4 separate regions of the Homo sapiens genome follow, and all the other regions are linked to region 2. The links are contacts of gene promoters, found by promoter capture Hi-C in blood cells and fetal thymus (Javierre and others, 2016). All regions are on one chromosome and are shown on one strand. The core of a region is centred on a gene start or on the middle of the fragment in contact, and the rest is flanking DNA. Distances in the headings are between cores, read along the strand shown. Region 1 overlaps LINC01494 (long intergenic non-protein coding RNA 1494). Region 2 holds the start of ATG9A (autophagy related 9A). Region 3 overlaps WNT6 (Wnt family member 6). Region 4 overlaps TTLL4 (tubulin tyrosine ligase like 4).

What was found. The method cuts DNA at HindIII sites, captures the fragments that hold promoters and counts their contacts. A CHiCAGO score of 5 or more calls a contact.
Region 1: a fragment that was not itself captured here is called in contact with the fragment with the promoter of ATG9A in region 2 in 2 of 17 cell types (total B cells and naive B cells); the score reaches 6.0 in total B cells.
Region 3: a contact is called between a fragment that was not itself captured here and the fragment with the promoter of ATG9A in region 2, in 1 of 17 cell types (activated CD4 T cells). The highest score is 5.0, in activated CD4 T cells.
Region 4: a contact is called between a fragment that was not itself captured here and the fragment with the promoter of ATG9A in region 2, in 1 of 17 cell types (erythroblasts). The highest score is 5.2, in erythroblasts.

The regions. Positions count from the first base shown.
Region 1 is chr2:218,903,139-218,905,838 of GRCh38, reverse strand. All of the region lies in intron 4 of LINC01494 (long intergenic non-protein coding RNA 1494), which reads left to right. Among named protein-coding and RNA genes, the nearest start is that of WNT10A, 24 kb to the right of the region's middle. The HindIII fragment of the contact is 1,258 bases long and covers 664-1,921 here.
Region 2 is chr2:219,228,266-219,230,965 of GRCh38, reverse strand. ATG9A (autophagy related 9A) reads left to right here and starts at 1,330. Exons shown (of 16, transcript NM_001077198.3): 1 at 1,330-1,431; 2 at 2,481-2,532. It overlaps ANKZF1 (ankyrin repeat and zinc finger peptidyl tRNA hydrolase 1), which reads right to left and starts at 1,160. Exons shown (of 14, transcript NM_018089.3): 1 at 1,066-1,160; 2 at 561-738. The coding sequence starts at 708. RefSeq lists enhancers at 966-1,075, 746-1,293, 1,294-1,841, 1,842-2,390 and silencers at 1,226-1,355, 1,566-1,615. The HindIII fragment of the contact is 5,267 bases long and covers 1-2,700 here.
Region 3 is chr2:218,872,060-218,874,759 of GRCh38, reverse strand. WNT6 (Wnt family member 6) reads right to left here. Exons shown (of 4, transcript NM_006522.4): 4 at 527-1,376. The coding sequence ends at 915. It also overlaps a transcript of WNT10A not described here. Among named protein-coding and RNA genes, the nearest start is that of WNT10A, 7.4 kb to the left of the region's middle. RefSeq lists an enhancer at 2,159-2,700. The HindIII fragment of the contact is 2,323 bases long and covers 276-2,598 here.
Region 4 is chr2:218,719,301-218,722,000 of GRCh38, reverse strand. All of the region lies in intron 1 of TTLL4 (tubulin tyrosine ligase like 4), which reads right to left. Among named protein-coding and RNA genes, the nearest start is that of TTLL4, 9.8 kb to the right of the region's middle. RefSeq lists a silencer at 2,138-2,435. The HindIII fragment of the contact is 2,321 bases long and covers 230-2,550 here.

The DNA.
Region 1 (2,700 bases), core at 43-2,542, 330 kb after region 2:
CAGTCCTGTGGGTTGACTACAGTCAGCTGGGCAGTTCTCACGTGGGGTCTCTCAAGCAGTTCAGTTAGATGGTGGCTAAGGCTGGAGTCATCTGAAGGCTCAACTCGGCTGGATATCCAAGATGACTTTTTAAAAATTTATTTATTTATTTATTTATTTTTGAAGACACAGCCTCACTTCGTCACCCAGGCTGGACTGTAGTGGCGCAATCTCACTCACTGCAACCTCCACCTCCCAGGTTCAAGTGATTCTCATGCCTCAGCCTCCCGAGAAGCTGGGACTACAGGCATGTGCCACTATGTCTGGCTAATTTTTTGTATTTTTAGTAGAGATGGGGTTTCGCCATGTTGGCCAGGATGGTCTTGAACTCCTGGCCTCAAGTTATCCGCCTGCCTCGGCCTCCCAAAGTGCTGAGATTACAGGTGTGAACCACTGAGCCCAGCCCCAAGATGACTTTTTAAAGTCACATGTCTGGCACCTCATCTGAATTGGCTGGAACTGAAGGGGCCTGCCCAGGCATTACTCTCTCTATACAGCCTTCCCATGTGGCTTGTTTCGGGTTCCTCATAGCATGGTAGTCTCTGGGTAGACAGACCTCATACACGGTGATTGGCTTGCCCCAGAGTGAACATTCCGAGCGACTGAGGCAAAAACTGCAAAGCTTCCTATTCCCTCTCTTCAGCAGTCATGCAGCTTCGCTTCCACAGCACACTCAGTGAAAAGGAAGCATGGACTGGCCCTTTCAAGGGGAGGGGACAATACACAGGTGTGAAGCATGATTCAAGGCGGACCACCTTTGGGGCCCAGCTATTACAGGGGCTGAGGCAGGAAAGGACTGCTCAGGGAACTGCACACAGTCATGCTTCAGTGGAACATGGTGTGGAAGTGAGAAAAAACTGGAGATGATCGTTTGTGGCATATGGTGGAGGGCTTCAATGCTCAGGAACCTGCATATGGATACACACTGGAGTCTTTAGCTGCCCAGCATCTGAGCCCCCTTCATATGTTGGTGGAGCCTCCCTAATGTGAGTCTTAGTGAGAAGTCAGATACTTGCTCACCTGGCCCCTAGCAGGAAGATCACAGCCAAATCAATGCTCCCAGTCAGGACTCTAAATCTTCAACAAGTGACCCAAGGAGGAAGAGGACTGTTTATAATTCATCCCAGAGGTGGCAGCAGCAAGTGCTCAGGGTGGTGGTAGCCATGTGGGAAGCAGCCCCCAAGCCCCTTAATCAGGCTGCACTTGGGACAGGATTTAGCTAAAGTTCTAGCTGCCTAGCTTCTCTTGGCTCCTGCTTGCTTCCTGAGCCTGATTCTTGAGGCTTCCTGTCAATTCTTTGAGTTCCCTGATGTCATCCCAGTAAATTCCTCTTCTACTAAGTGAACCAGAGTCTGTTTCTGTTGTTTGCAATTAAGAACCCAAATTGGTACAAAGATCCATTGAGAGCTTTAGTCAGAGGAAATGACATGATCAGAGCACTTCGTGGGAGAGAAAAACAGAACAATAGGATAGGGATGGATTGAAGAGGAAGAAAGAGGAATGACAGAGGCTAGTTGGAAGGTCGTTGTGATGTTTGAGGTGTGTGGTGAACTAGGATATTGACCATGTGAATGAAGTGGAAGAATAAGCAGATCTTGGCCACTGATTGAATATAGAAAGGAGAAGAGAAGGTGAGAGTCCAAGTTTACACCAGTTTTGAGGTTCAGTGACTAAGAAAATGATGATGTGACAAAGAGAAACAAGCAAGTTAAGGAGAACTGGTTTGGAGGGGAAAGTCATTCATTCACTTATTCAACAAATATTAAATGCCTGGTCTATGCCAAGCACTGTGCTAGGCATTGAGAAAAGAACAGTAAACAAAACAAAGTCTCAGCCCTTAGCAAATACATACATAAGATAATGAATCTGCATTAATAAAGCTTGAGCCGGGCATGGTGGCTCACGCCTGTAATCCCAGCACTTTGGGAGGCTGAGGTAGGTGGATCACTTGGGGTCAGAAGTTCAAGACCAGCCTGGCCAACATAGTGAAACCCCATCTCTACTAAAAATACAAAAAATGAGCTGGGCGTGGTGGCAGGCCACCTGTAATCCCAGCCACTCAGGAGGCTGATGCAGGAGAATTGCTTGAACCTGGGAGGCAGAGGAGTCAGAGGTTGCTGTGAGCTGAGATGGCGCCATTGCACTCCAGCCTGGGTGACAGAGCAGGACTCTGTCTCAAAAATAAAATAAAATAAAATAAAGCTTGAGTGGGTGGTATCACAGGCATACATTAAAACATGTCTAGCTGGCAGCTGGAACTTCAAGAAAGATCACAGGAGACCAGGTGTGGTGGCTCACACCTGTAATCCCAGCACTTTGGGAGGCCAAGATGGGTGGATCACCTGAGGTCAGGAATTCAAGACCTGCCTGGCCAACATGGCGAAACCCTGTCTCTACTAAAATACAAAAATTAGCCCGGCATGGTGGTGCACACCTGTAATACCAGCTACTCAGGAGGCTAAGGCAGGAGAATTGCTTGAACCCAGGAGGCAGAGGTTGCAGTAAGCTGAAATCACACCACTGCATTCCAGCTTGGGTGACAGAGCGAGACTCTGTCTCAAAAGAAAAAAAAAGAAAGATCATAGGAAGGAAGTTTGGGCCTGAAGACAGAAGTTAGTAGTGATTTCTGTAGACATTTATTTATTTATTCATTCATTCACT
Region 2 (2,700 bases), core at 81-2,580:
GGAGTTTGAGACCAGCCTGGCCAACATGGTGAAACCCCGTCTCTACTAAAAATACAATAATTAGCCGGGCATGGTGGTGCGGGCCTGTAGTCCCAGCTACTCGGGAGGCTGAGGCAGGAGAATCACTTGAACCCGGGAGACGGAGATTGCAGTGGGTGGAGATCGTGCCACTGCACTTTAGCCTGGGCGACAGAGCGAGACTCTCAAAAAATAAAGCTATACGAAACAAATAATAAATTGTTTCATATTCAGCAAAAAGGAATAATTTGAGTGGGGCCTGGTTAAATGTGGAATACATCTGAGAATTTTATCTCTACAAAGTTTAAAGTGTTTTTGAAGGGAATGGTGTTAACGTGAGGAGATACATGCAATGGCAAAAAGACTTGTTTGAAAACAAGGGCTGTGCTGGACATTACCCAGAGATTAAGTGAATTTAATCAAGCAGAAAGATAAATCAATTGGCCTCCTAAGCTCGGGAATACCAATAAGAATGTGTTCCCTGAACGGGCAATACGCTGTAAGGAGCCCTGTCACGTTTCACACGAAACCTTCCAGGATACCTGAACAGGAAGTACGCGGAGCCCGGGCCAGAGCCTCCCCAGGCGCGTGGCTCACCAGGCTCAGGCCCTGAAAGACCGGAGCATCCGCGCTGAGGTCAAACAGGGAGATCGACGCAGGAGCCGGGGCTGCATCTGGAGCCGGCGACATGGCTGAGCAGAAATTATTTAGCAGCAGCTCCTGGAGTAGAAAGCGTGTAAGAAACAGGGCTCCTGCAAACGAGATCCTACTGCTGCGTCTCCTGCCTGCCTGACTTGGTTTCTCCTGCACCGCAAGACTTCTCGTCTCTCATCCTGCTACCAACTGTGAGATGAATACCTTGGCCCCCGTCCACTTTCTCAAACCCCCAGTCTCAGCCCACAAAAGAATGAAATAGGCATTCGGCTCCCAAATCGAGTCCAACAGAGTTAAAAATCACTGAGCTTGCCTAGCCGAACTTTCTTCGTTACCCATGCGACCAGCAACAACTGGCCCGCGTAAACTCGCCCACGCCCTTAGAAGACGCACCAAACGTCCCGGGAGCTGAGCGGCTCGCAAGTCCTCAGGTCGATTGCCGGATTTCTGCAACACAACAATCCCCGTCACTACGGAGCAGCGAAGAGGACAACCGGCGGCGTCCGCACCTGAGCCCCGCCCCACGTAGAGCACACTATTGGGCCGCTGACTGTCCAAGACCCGCCTCGAGACTTTAGTCCCGTCCCTGAAGCCGAGAATTGGCCGTTGTGTCTCCGCCCCCCGTGCTTATTGGCCAGCCTGGCTGCGGGTGACAGTGAGTGGCAGACACCCGGCCTAGCGCCGCGGGTCGCGCCGAGCCGAGCCGAGCCGAGCGGAGCCGGCGGAGCCTCTGGAATCACCCGGGTCGCTGTTCCTGAGGTAAGACGTGAGACCGGTTATTGGAATCCCAGGCCCCGTGTCTGGCCTTGCCCAGGGGTGCCTGCGGAGCCCTAAGTGAGCTCGCGGCGGGTAACGGAGGAAGGGGCGCCGCCGGCGGGGCGGGGGCGCGCAGCCGGAATGTTTTGATTGCTGGCGCGCGCAGACGGGGGCGCGCGCGGGCGCCGGGGCCGCGCGCGAGGTTGTCCGCTGTTGGGAGCTGCCAGCCCTTGGCCTGGGGCCGGGCGACCCTGGGGCGAGGTGGACTCCGGTCCACGGTCGCCGCGGCTGGGTGTGGGGAGGCAAGCCAACCCACCCGGGCTATCAGCTGTAAGGCTGACTCGATCCCTGCAACATCCGCAGGAACCCCTGAGCCCAGGCCCAGCCGGCCGGGGCTCCACGGGCCCTGGTCCACACTGACCCTGTGAGTGGTGACTTCCCTGAGGGGCAGGGCTCTCACTAGCCCAGGGAATCCCACCGGGGCCAGGCTGGGCCAAGATCCACGGCCCCCAGGGGCTGCACGGACAGGTGAGTACCACCTCGACCATGCCTGGCTTACAGGACCTAGGGAACCCACAAATTCACCTAGGATCGGGGGTCTACACTGACCCAGTCAAGGTTTCCCATCCAGAAGGTTTGCTCACCGGCTGGATCTTTGGTGCTAGGGAAGTAAGAGAAGGGGTTGACCAGAAAGGTCCTCTTCAGGAAAGACTCTTGAGGTTTTGTGGACCCTGAGAAGTATGTCATTTCTGAGGCTAAGGTAGGGCAATGGAGAAATAGTCCAGAGGCGCCCCTGGCCTCAGGTCTGTACCCACTCATTCTCCATGGGGTCCCTAAGTTACTTCTTGAGACCCTGGAGTTGGAAGAGTGGCCCGGTTTAGCACAGCCAGAGGAAGTGCTCGTAGTCCTGGGCTGGAAGGGTGCTTCTTCCCCACTGCAGCCTTCCTGCCCCATGCTTGGCCTCCTCTTGGTGGGGTGTGGATGGCTGGGAGGGTTGGGTTCCTTTTTATCCCCACTGCCCACTCTCTGGGGCCTGACATCTTCTCCTCCAGCAGCTGCAGAGCATCGAGGGCTGGAGAGGAGCACATACTGTCCATGGAGCTGGTAGGGCCATGTGCTTTTCTCAAACATTTGTTTGTGAAGTGCTTCCAAACTGTTAGTCTCTTGGGAGACCAGGGTTCCCAGGATGGGCGGGGGAGGGACTCTTCTGTCCGTTAAATAGAAGATGAAACAGCCCCCAACAAAGGGACAGATTCTGGCTTTGGGCCAGGA
Region 3 (2,700 bases), core at 188-2,687, 360 kb after region 2:
GTGTCTGACCCCAAAGCTCATTTTTTGTCCTCCATACCTTGATGGGGGAGTCATTCCCCATTGCAGTATTTGGACTGGAGGAAAGTTGGAGGCTCTGGGTCCTGGAAGTTGGGCTATGCCATCCCTCTTTCTCTCTGGAGGAAGATGAGAGCTCAAGCTTCAGCTCTGGAGAATCCAGAACTGCCCTCTGTCTCCTCACTTTCACCAGTAGCTTCCCAAGAGGAACCAGAAGGAAGGAAATATTGTTGGGTGTCAAGAGGTATGCATCAGAAGCTTCTGATGCCCCTGTCCCTTTAAAGAGGAATTGCTAGTTCTTCTCCAGCTTGCAGATCCAGGACCTAGATGTGTGACAGGAGTGAACAAGAAGAATGCCAAGGGGAGATAGCGAGTTTCCAGGAGAGGCCAACCTGGTCGGGAGATAGGGACCCAGGTGATAGCCCCTGAGGTGCTAGTTCTAGCAAAACCACCTTCTTCTGGAGCCTGGCAGCCTGAAGATCAGTCTCCCCCAAAACTGTGGGTCCAGCCCTGGTGGTTTAAATATCTTTATTGATACTAACCTCACCCACCATCCTGTGGCCAGCAGTTCTGGGGAGCCCAGTATCCAGAGGCCTTTAGACTGGCTTTTTTCCAGTCTAAAAAACTGTTTCCTCCTAGAGGCCAAGGGGAGGGAGGGCCTGTACAGTGTCCTTTAAACGCTCCCCGAGCGCCTTTTCGGGGCCGTCTGGCGCCCTGGGCCTTCGTGGGTGGGCGTTCCTCTCAAGCCCCTCGCCTCACCATTTCCAGAGCCCTGGGAGTTGGGCTTTGGCAGGGAGAGGCTGGGCTCGAGCGGCGAGAGGCGCCCGGTGCCGGTGCCCTGAGGTCCCACAGGTGCGAGCCACCGCTGCGCGAAGTCAGTCTAGCGGCCGGGCGGCGGGTCACAGGCAGAGGCTGAGCTCCTTGCGCACACGGCAGCGGTGGCACTGTACTACGCAGCACCAGTGGAAGCGGCACAGGCAGTTCTCTTCGAGCTGCACGCTCTCCTGGCGGTGCCCGCGGCCGCAGCACAGCAGGTCGCAGCCGCTGAGGTCCGGGGCGCTGCTATTGCAGGCGCGACCGCGCGTGCCGGGGGAGCCGGTGCGTCGGTTGGGGGCGCAGAAGTCGGGCGAATCGGCGGCGTAGAGGAGGTCCGCTCGGCCCGGCGGCTTGAGCGTGCGGACGGCGGGCAGCAGGGCCTTGCCGTCGTTGGTGCCCATGACGCGTGAGGCGCCGTGGAAGCGCTCCAGCAGCCGCGCGCCCACCTCGCGAAATGGAGGCAGCTTCTGCCAGCAGGTGCGCAGCGCGCATGATCCCGACAGCCCGTGGCATTTGCACTCGGTGCGCGTGTGGCTCCGCACGGCCTGCGGGAGGCAGAGGGGCGGACGCATGTGGACAGGTAGGGGGTGCAGGGAAGGGCCCAGCGGATGGACAGAAAATAAGATTGGGAATGGGAGGTGAAAGGAAGAGAGGAAAATGCAGACAAAAGGAGACCGCAAGTTCAGGGGGAGGAAATCAAGGAAAGGACAACTCGGAGGGGAGGAGCAGGAGGAATGGTGAGGATGGAGGAATATGATGATGACGAAGAGGGGAGACGGGGACAATATGCAGCGCAGAGATTCCAGGGTCCAAAGGCAGGGGGTGGGGGAGAAAGCAGAATGGACAGCAGGGGTGAGATTCTCTTTGGAGGAGGGGAGAGGTGGCAGCTGTCGAAGTCTAGCTCTCCTGCCTACCTGGCCCCCTCATTCCTACCCCTCACGGCCCCCAGGCCGGGCTGAGCACAGACGCAGAGCCAGCCTCCTGGGCATCTGTCTCCGTCACCCCTCCCCAACCCTCTCGGCAGGTATGTGGGCCTGTCCGGACATTCCTCTTCAGGCCCCCTCCTCCCCCTGCCCGATGCCTCAGGCCCGAACCCTAGAGGACACGGTATGTATGGCGATGTCCCTGGAGAACGCTAGAACGGAGGCATGGGGTGCAGGAGGGCCCGCTGGGAATGCAGTACTGAGAGTGGAACCCAGGCGGCCTCTCCCCTAGTCACTGTCTGAAGCAGGGTCTAAGATTCCCAAACCCACCAAGCGCTGATGGTTCAGAAGACCCAAGAAAATCATTTCTGGAAGCTCAGAGTCCAGGGGCTAACCTGACCATGTGTCCCACTCCCACCTCCTGAGTCTGCCCTGCCCCCTCCTGGAACCATCACACCCAGACAACCTTCTTGCCCCTGAATGAGAGCTCCTGGGGCTCTCCTCGTTACAGAGGGGAGAGGAGAGGCTGCCATGGCTCTGGGCAGGTGAGACCTGGGCTGGTGTTGCTGGGCAGCCAGTTGGCAAATGCCCAGAATTGGTCACAGCTGTCCTGGCCTCCACCTGACTCCCTCCAACCTCCACTAGGATTGGTTCCTTGTCCTTCGCTCTTTTCCATTGCCCCTCAGACCTGTTCTAACTCTTTCTAGGCCTCTCTCACTCCCCCTGGCTTCCCTGTACCAAAACCCCAGACCTTGCATTAGCTTCTATCCTGTCTTTCATCCCCACCTTTGTTTTATTCTCCTGCCCCTGCCTAGGCATCCAGACCTCCTACCCACTGCAAGCTTTGCTTCACCTGTCCTGTCTTGAAGCTGTGCCCTCTCTGCCTGGGGTCACTAAAGACCCTCAGTCCTATTCCCTGAGTGTCCCTTCCCCCATTCTGCCCGCT
Region 4 (2,700 bases), core at 141-2,640, 510 kb after region 2:
CCTAATTTTAACTTCTGAGTTTTTTAATTTTTTTTTTTAAATAGAGACAGAGTCTCACTATGTTGCCCCAGTTGGTCTCGAATTCCTGCCCTCAAGTGATCCTCTTGCCTCAGCCTCTCAAAAGTGCTGAGATTACAGGTATGAGCCACTGGGCCTGGCTATTTTAAAATAAAAACCTCAATTATTTATGCATTTCTTTGCTATCTGTCTATCTTCCAGAATGAAAGCTTTGAGCACAGGGACTTTTTCACAGAGCTTATGTATCCAGCCCTAGAATGGTAATCAGGGCTCATTAAATATTTGCTGAATAAACAAATGCATCTACAACAGCTATGACCAGCTAAGGGGGAAAAAACTTTTTTCACTCCCTTACATAGTCACTCTTAACACAGTACAGAATATTTCACCTCTGGTCATCAAAATGTGTGAGGCACACACACCAAGGAATGCTCCAGAGGCCACCAGCTGGATATCCTATAATTCAATTCTGACACTATTTACCTAAAGATAGCATCAGATCTCACAGGTTAAGGGCTCAGTACCACAAGGCTGCTTCCACTTCAGATTCCAATTGCAAGGCACAGGTTGTGACCTGTGCTTCTGATTGATTTGCTATAAATTGGTGTTCCCTGGCCAGGCGCGGTGACGCACACCTGTAATCCCAACACCTTGGGTGGGGCGAATCGCTTGAGCCCAGGAGTTCAAAATTAGCCTGGGCCACATGGCAGAACCCCACCTCTTAATTAATTAATTAATTAATTAATTGGGGGTAAATTGAGGTTCCCAAAACCCCCCCATGGGGTTTGATCAATTTGTTAGAACAACTCACAGAACTCAGGGAAACACTTCACTTACATTTACCTATTTATTACAAAGGATACAGATGAACAGCCACATGGAAGAGATACATGATGCATAGGGCAAGGGATGGGGAAAAGGGCTTGGAGCTTCCGTGCTGTTACCGGGAGTGCCAGGTACATTCATGTGCTCAACAATCCAAACCCTGTCCTTTTGGGTTTTTATGCAGGTTTCATTAATAGGCATGACTGAATAAATCACTGGCCATTGGTAGTCAGCTCAATCTTTGGCTCCACTCCCCTTCCCAGAAGGTGGGGGATGGAACTGAAAGTTCCAACCCTCTAATCACATGGTTGGTTCTCTCGGCAATCAGCCTCCCATCTTGAGGCTATTCAGGAGTCCCCAGCTATCAATCATCTCATTAGCATATAAAAAGACACTTATCACTTACAAGTTCTGAAGGTTTTAGGAGCCAGGAACCAGGGGCACACCCCAATTATGTATTTCTTTCTTTTTTTTTTTTTTTTTGAGACCGGAGTCTCACTGTGTTGCCCAGGCTGGAGTGCAATGGTACGATCTCGGCTCGCTGCAACCTCTGCCTCCCGCGTTCATGCAATTCTCCCGCCTCAGCCTCCCGAATAGCCGGGATTACAGGCACCCGCCATCGTGCCCGGATAATTTTTGTATTTTTGTAGAGACAGGGTTTCACCATGCTGACCAGGCTGGAGTATTTCTTATTATATCACAATATCACATCAGCAAAGCCACGAGTTGGACCTATTCATATGAAAAAGGCGTTCCCCTCTTACCACCATCTCCTTGTTGCTATTTTTTACTCAGTGCGTGCACTCTGCCACAGCTGTACCCAACCCCTTCAATAGTGTCTTTCCTCCTCCTGAGGCCAATCCAAAATCCTCCAGTTCTTTCATCCTCCCCCACATCAAATCAATCTCTCTCACAATGTCAACTATTATCTGCAGAAGAGTCATTTTGCAGATTTGTCGTCTCAAGTTTCATGTCTGCATCACCAACTGCCTGTTCCACCTTTCCAAATGCATGTCCAACCACTTCAATCTAGTGTGTCAAACTAGCTCTCCACTCCTGATCGTCCCATTTCCTTGAGTGGACCCTTCTTTCTCCAAATCACCTAAGAGGAAAACTAAGTTATTTCTGACTTTTTCCTTTACTTTATTTCCCCAAAGGGAAACCAGTCATGAAATTTAAGACACTCTGTCTACTTAGCATTCTTCCTCCTTTTATTATTTCCACCATGCCCCTAGATCTGGACTTACTGCAACAGCACTGACTGAAGCATGTGTCTCCAAGGTGTGCCCTTCCTAATTCCACCCTGCAGGCAACCTCCAGATTAATTTTGCTGTATTGCTTCATCAGGTCAATCCCTTTTCAAAAACGGTCCATGAGCACTTACTAAACACTGTGGTGGCCCACCTGCATCAGAATAACCTGAGATGCAAAGTCCTGAGATTCACCTTCAAGAGGATTCAGTTGGTGTGGAGTAGGGCCATGAGTCTGCAGTTTTAACAAGCATTCCAGATGACTGTCATGTGAGATTTCTTAGCTTTGGTCCACAAGACTCCATAGTCGACCCTTAATCTTTTTTTTTTTTTTTTTAAGGCTTATTTCCATTTCCTCCTACCTTGAACTCTGTTATGTGAACTGCGCTGGTCTTACACTAAATTCCTGGAATAAACCTTTCAAATGCCTGTCTGCAGGGCTTTACTCCACTAAGCTTCTTCCTTGTGAATCCTTACCATATTTTATTTACCTTTTCCAGACCCAGCTCAAGACCCACCCTCTCCACGAGCACCTGTTGTGTGTCCCTCTCACGTGATACTTTCCCAAGGCTATCTCACACCACTGTTCACTTACCCTAGTGATATG